Regions from separate parts of the Homo sapiens genome. Here region 2 is linked to region 1. Evidence: promoter capture Hi-C in 16 types of primary human blood cells and fetal thymus (Javierre and others, 2016). All regions are on one chromosome and are shown on one strand. The core of a region is centred on a gene start or on the middle of the fragment in contact, and the rest is flanking DNA. Distances in the headings are between cores, read along the strand shown.

Evidence for each region. Contacts are between HindIII fragments. The CHiCAGO score rates a contact against its expected background, and 5 or more counts as called.
Region 2: a fragment that was not itself captured here is called in contact with the fragment with the promoter of WWC2-AS1 in region 1 in 1 of 17 cell types (M2 macrophages); the score reaches 5.6 in M2 macrophages.

Annotation. Positions count from the first base shown.
Region 1 is chr4:183,238,921-183,242,127 of GRCh38, reverse strand. It overlaps WWC2-AS1 (WWC2 antisense RNA 1), which reads left to right and starts at 1,494. Exons shown (of 2, transcript NR_126473.1): 1 at 1,494-1,604. WWC2 (WW and C2 domain containing 2) reads right to left here. Exons shown (of 23, transcript NM_024949.6): 5 at 1,866-1,945. The HindIII fragment of the contact is 11,540 bases long and covers 1-3,207 here.
Region 2 is chr4:182,479,973-182,483,179 of GRCh38, reverse strand. The region is part of intron 3 of TENM3 (teneurin transmembrane protein 3); the gene reads right to left. Among named protein-coding and RNA genes, the nearest start is that of TENM3, 240 kb to the right of the region's middle. The HindIII fragment of the contact is 2,892 bases long and covers 79-2,970 here.

The sequences.
Region 1 (3,207 bases), core at 245-2,744:
GGAGAGGTCTCTGATGTTAGATATCATATCTTTCTGCTCTCGGTTCAAGGGATTAGAATCATTCCAAGAGAATGCCTGAATTTCTACAACAAATGTCTATTGTTTTCTTGTGGAATGTTATTGACAGATTCTTAAACATGCCTTAGATTCCTATAAAAATTGCTTGCAAGCAAACTGCTTTGAAACAATACAGCATTGTTACATCAATATAACAAAGACAGCAAGTTTGGCTAACCTTTAATCCCAAATGGTGACGCGAGTTATAATTTCATGTGCCTTAAAAATGTGGAACATATGGCTAAACACGTTACGGCACTCTTCAAACTCTGTTTTCTCTCCCCACCCCCACCACGAAGCCCTGCTTTATGCTGATAAACAATTACTAAATAATGCATTTATGTCATTCTAGTTCTGCCTGGTTTATCGGGGAGCTCTGCAACCAGCTGAGGTTCTTACAACAGGGCTGGACTTGAGAAGCACTTGGGATCTCATAAAATATACCTGGCATAGAGACTAGAAACATTATTTTTCTAAGCACTCTCCAGATTATTCTAATATGCAGTCAGGTTTGAGAACCACTAGGATGGGAGCATCTGAAGGAGTATCAGGGTCATGATTCTATGCGGTAAGCAGGAAAAAAGGAGTCTGGATGATAACAGCACGTGTGAAATTAAAGTCATGCGTCTGACTGGTGGTCAAGAGCAGTGCCTGCGTATCCCAAGATATGACTAATCACCCAAACAAGAACAACCAGTTTGTTTATCTGGCCAGTGACACACAGGATCTTTAAAGGGGCTTGCTGCTTGGAGCATCCCAAATAAGAGCAGAAGGTAAAGTAAGATTCCACAGGGAAAAGGAACACAGCTGGGTACTTTCCACAGAGGTGGCGCCTGAGACCAGCTTGGCATTCCTGAGGTGCTACCACGGGAGATGCCGGGAAGAACACGAAACCTGCCTGAACACAAAACTGACCAGGGACATCCCTAAAAATACTGCACCGCACTTGGAGGCACCAAGCAGGAGGGAAGTTTTAACTCCTCTCCGTGGTCATGTGGCTGTGAAAACCATGGACTGCTTCTCTCCCATGAGAGGCCCTGTGGAGTGGAGACTGCAGGATTAGAAAGTCTCAGGTGTGCCTGTCACGGTTTGGATAGGCTGGGCCTCAGCAGCAGGGAGAACAGTGGCTTTCAGGGGCCGGGAATGCGGAAGGGATATCCTCATCCTGTGACCCTCTGTCACCTCCATTTCCACTTTACCTGGCCCAGCTTAGGGCTCTGCTAACGGCCCAGCCAACTTCAGTAGCAAACGGGAAAGGTAGAGGAACCAGGAAGTGAGGAGCGCACTCCCGCTCCTTTGCTAATAATCCTAACTTGCTCTTGCTCCCCTGCCATCTGTCAGGGTTAGACTCTAGGTCATCCCTGGGGCTGGCAGAGAGAGAGAGAGAGACAGACACGCCTCCACCCAAGGGCCCAGGGCAGCTGCAGGCTCACACAGGGGTCAAGTACAGCCAGCCCAGCCGAATGTGGAGAGGAATTTCTTGTGCCTAGTCTCTTAGCTCTGTACCACAATCTCAGAGGAGGCCAGCAAGGGTCCAGGAGATAAAGGTAAGACAAAGGCTTTTCACTTTGGTTTCTTTGGATCTCCAATGATTAATAAAAACTTTGGATCTTTTCAAGTGCATAGATCTTTCCCAAGTTTTTTTATCTGTTGGTTGATTGCTTTATTTTCTTTTGGTGTAGAGCTCTGAACTTTTTTACTTTACGTTTCTTTAAGAAATCGCTTATGTAATCTGTACTTCTATTTTCTTTGTATTCATACTAGTTAGGGAGCTTATTCTAAAGTTGATTCAGTCTTTTCATACTCACTGCTGCAATGTTTCAAAGCCTTGTTCTTTATAGAGCAGTTCCTGCTTCATCTGTGAGAGCTCTCTCTTTAGCTTTTTAACCTTTAAAGAGAAATCAACATAAACATTAATGTTTGCAGATAATTAGCAACACAGTCTACAGTTTTAAAAGATAATAAATTAGTAAACAAACACATAAACAAAGCCATGAGTTAAAGTAACATTTACTTTATCAGTTTCTCCTTCACATAAATTCTGTGGAAGGCATATTAATGATGTTTAAAACTATCAGTGATGTGTATTATTACTACTATTTACCTTCATTACCTTACTTAGCAACATTCTTATGAGCTGGACATCATCATTGTCTCCAACCAAAATGGGCAGAATAAGAACTCCAAGTCATGGCATCTCTATAAAAGTGTGTGTTTTTCCTTCATTCACTGTGCCAAGGGCCACTGCCCACCCCTCCGTTCCTCAGATGTCCTGGCAGTTCCTTCTGCCTGGAAAGCTCTCCCCAGATCTCCCGCAGTTGACTCCCTGTCCCTCCAATGCTAGCTGAAATGTTATCTTTTCAAATAGGACTTCTCTAGCCCCCCTGCCCCTGCCACGGCTCTGTTTTATTTAGACCAGAGTATTTTTCAGGAGCTGAAATTCTCCGTGTACACTGTCTGTCCTCCGTGGGAAAGTAAGCTGCAACCCACCAGCTGTATCCCAAGCATCTACAACCATGCCAAGCAAACAGCAGATGATCAATAAATATTTGTTGTCAAACTGATAAAATATATTTTTCCTGTTGTCAAATATATACTTTGGTAATAACAATTCTAAAATTGGACAGATCAGAAAAGCAGCACACGCCTGGTTTAGTCACAAACTAATAAAGGTCTTCTCACAAGGGTTAGAAACTTACTTCCATATATTAAGTTAGAGCCTTAAGTTTTTTTCTGTTGTTTGTTTGTTTTTTTTTTGAGACAGAGTCTTGCTCTGTCGACCAGGCTGGAGTGCGGTGGTGCAATCTCGGCTCACTGCAACTCCGCCTCCCGGGTTCAAGCGATTCTCATGCCTCAGCATCCAGAGTAGCTGGGATTACAGGCGCCCGCCACCACGCCTGGCTAGTTTTTGTGTTTTTAGTAGAGATGGGGTTTGACCATGTTGCCCAGGCTGGTCTCGAACTCCAGGGCTCAAGCGATCCACCCGCTTCGGCCTCCCAAAGTGCTGGGATTACAGGCGTGAGCCACCATGCCCAGCCAGAGCCTTAAGTTTTAAACACATTCTGTTGCGCAATATTTTAGAGTGCTTTTGAACTTTTATGTTGATTTATTTTACTCATTCCACAAATAGGTATTGACTCTCTACTATGT
Region 2 (3,207 bases), core at 275-2,774, 760 kb after region 1:
CTAGATAAAGCAAGAAAACAATTTTGTATTTTTGGCAACGCATATGAAACATGCATTAATGAGTTCTGCTTTAAAGCTTGAATATGAAATTGTGGTGATGATATGCTCCGTAAAGAAAAAAATAGCTGAAGAACAAACATGTTCTTTTTCTTTTCCTGTAAATATTCCTAAAGCAATATGAAAATTTGGGTAATATTCTTAATTTCAATGAAAACTTTAAGTATATGACATGTAGAGAGCTAAAACAAATCTAAAAGGAATCTGAAATCCAAAATTAATTCATATATTGAAGGTCTACACTCGTAACTGCTTCCTTGGATCTTTTTAATTTTAATGACCTCTTTTAAGTACACTGTGATATGTTACAAAGAAGGCATCTTATGGGAGAAGGCCATAAAAATAGACCATATTCCTGTGTAATACCTACCTACTGTTTCTGAAAAGAACTGACATGAATGCATACATCTCAAATAATGCAGGTGTGTCAGAGACAATGCTGTCTTGCCATGTACAAGACAATGCCTATGTGTAGACATTTTCACAGGTTAGCAAAATTATACTAAAATTGCAAAAGGTTAAGAAAGAAATTTTCTCATTTTATTTTCAATTTTTCTTGTATTCTAACCTACAGTGCAGTGAAGATTCTGTTCTGCAATGCCAAAATTTAATCATATTGATATATTCCACAATAATAGTTGCAGGATTACACTGAAGGGTAATTTTTTTAAAATCACAATTAGTGGTGGTACCTTCCACATTACATTCTGCCCATGTTATTAAAAGGCAAATAAAATCAATGTATGTATTATGTTCATAGGAACATACAAAAAATCTACAATATAGATATAAGCATATTAATAACTAGGTTTACTTTATCCTTATTTTGAAAGAAAAGGAACCATAAATTGAAAAGCATTATTGTAATTAAGCCAAACGTATTTATAGTAAAATAAGAGTTACCCTTCAAAACCTATTTTTCAGTGAGTGATTCTAGGTCAGCATGTCTCAATGAAAATCACTGAATTTACATTATTTTTATAAGTTATAGATACAATATTTAATAAAATTCAATGTATAATTGGTGGCTTTTGTTTTAGGTTCATAGGTAAAAACTGAAGTATAAGTTTAATTAACATTGCATTTAAATATACTCAATTAAGATACAGTATCTGCATTTACTTCAGTGTTGTGCACTGTCTAGAGAAATTTACTTCTTTGGTATGTCATATTTTGCCTTCCATTACAATAACCAGAAATGAAAGAAAGTAACAAAGAAAATATCACTTCTTAAATTTTGATATAAAGCAAAAAATCATTAAGTTATTGTTAGAAGTAAATTATAATTGTATTGTATTTTATTGTATTGAGTGAGTGATTGATTTTTGAGACAAGAGTCTCACTCTGTTGCCCAGGCTGCAGTGCAGTGGCACCATCTCGGCTCACTGAAACCCTTGCCTCCTGGGCTCAAACAATTCTCCTGCCTCAGCCTTCCCAGTAGCTGGGACTACAGGTGCACACAGCCATGCCTGGCTAATTTTGTGTATTTTAGTAGAGACGGGGTTTCACCGTGTTGCTCAGGCCGGTCGTGAACGCCTGAGCTCAGGCAATCCGTCTGCTTCGGCCTCCCAAAGTGCTGGGATTACAGGTGTGAGCCACCGTGCCCGGCCTATAATCATATTTTAAAGTAGAAAAATAATTTTAAAAAAATCTCAACGTAAGTGTAAAGGTGAGGATTTACCCTACTGAATAATGAATCTTTAAGCACAAAAGATTGTTTAAAACAGATAACTAACAGGAGCTATACTTATTTCATAAGAATTTCAGAAAAGTCAAGGTAAAGTAAAAGAGAAAATGAGGTGTCTTCTTTATTGTCACAAAGTTCAAGATAAAGAAAAGCGATTTAACTTTTAGGTTTATATCTGGACTTTCTCTTTAACTCCTTGTTTATTGTTACATTTAAATCTTGATTTAGAAATTAGTTTTTCAGTCTGTTTCTTTAAAAAATATATTTACGACTTGTTATAGAAACTCTCTTGGCCTCTCTCTGAATTATTTTTCAGAGTCTGTGTTACAAATTCTCAATTATTCACTTTGGCAAAATGCAATTTCTCAACTTCTAACCCCAAGCAATAGATAAGAGGATTATATTAAAAAAGAAAGAAAGAAAGAAAAGAAAACGACTCTTCAAATAGACTAGTATTTAACAGAAAAAAAGGAAACTCTCTCAACTACTTGTGCCTTTCAAACTCAATAAAATGACTCCGTATATCTCAAAATCAAATACCCAATTCTCTGTTCCCTGAAACAATTGCCTAAAAATATGTCAGTTCAGATTTGACATAATAAAACCATATTTTAGTCATTGACAGAAAATTCATATTGTGTCTAGAGATCCACCACATAAATTCAGAGTTAAAATACAAGAAGCCTAAGAAAATTTCATAAAATATCTATATGCTTTGATTTTTCAAAAAAAAGAAAAATTAAAATGATACAACCAATTGTTCATTAAATAGTACTGTTTTCAAAGATACAGAGTTCCAAATAGAATTAGAACCAAATTTTAACTTTTCATCTTTACGAAGACACTTTTTAAAATTAAATATATATGCATATATATGAATTTAAAGCAAATGTGTTAATATATTAGTTACTTAAGGCCTACAAGCAAACTTAAAAACTGTATTTCAAAAACAATTCTTTCACACTTTGGCAAAAGGAAATTGTGATTTTGAAAAACATCATTAGAAAACTGGCCTGCTGTGTTTCTAGGATATTTTAGCAAACAATTAACGATACCAAGAGCCTCCAGCAGCTATATTTGCAAAAGGCTTCAGTTTGAAAGACTGGGAGAGTGAAACTTAAGATATCTTGCTAAATTACTGTAAAATTCTAGACTCCACTCAAGATTTTACTTGTTAAATTATTATTATTGGTTTTATTTTTAGTGCCAATTTCACTAAGGAAGCTTAGCATGACCAAAATAAGTGAATCTTCCACACAGCTCAGAGAGATTAAAAATGTGATATCTGGAAAACCACTTTTAAAATTCTACAATAATATAGATCGTAATTCTCAAAACAGAATACTGTTGATACAATTTTTGAAACTATAATCAAATACTTCCTGTTGCTATCCATCATACCCAAGGAAGAATACAATATATTAATAGATTATGTGAAAAAAAATAACTATTCTTTACTTTTG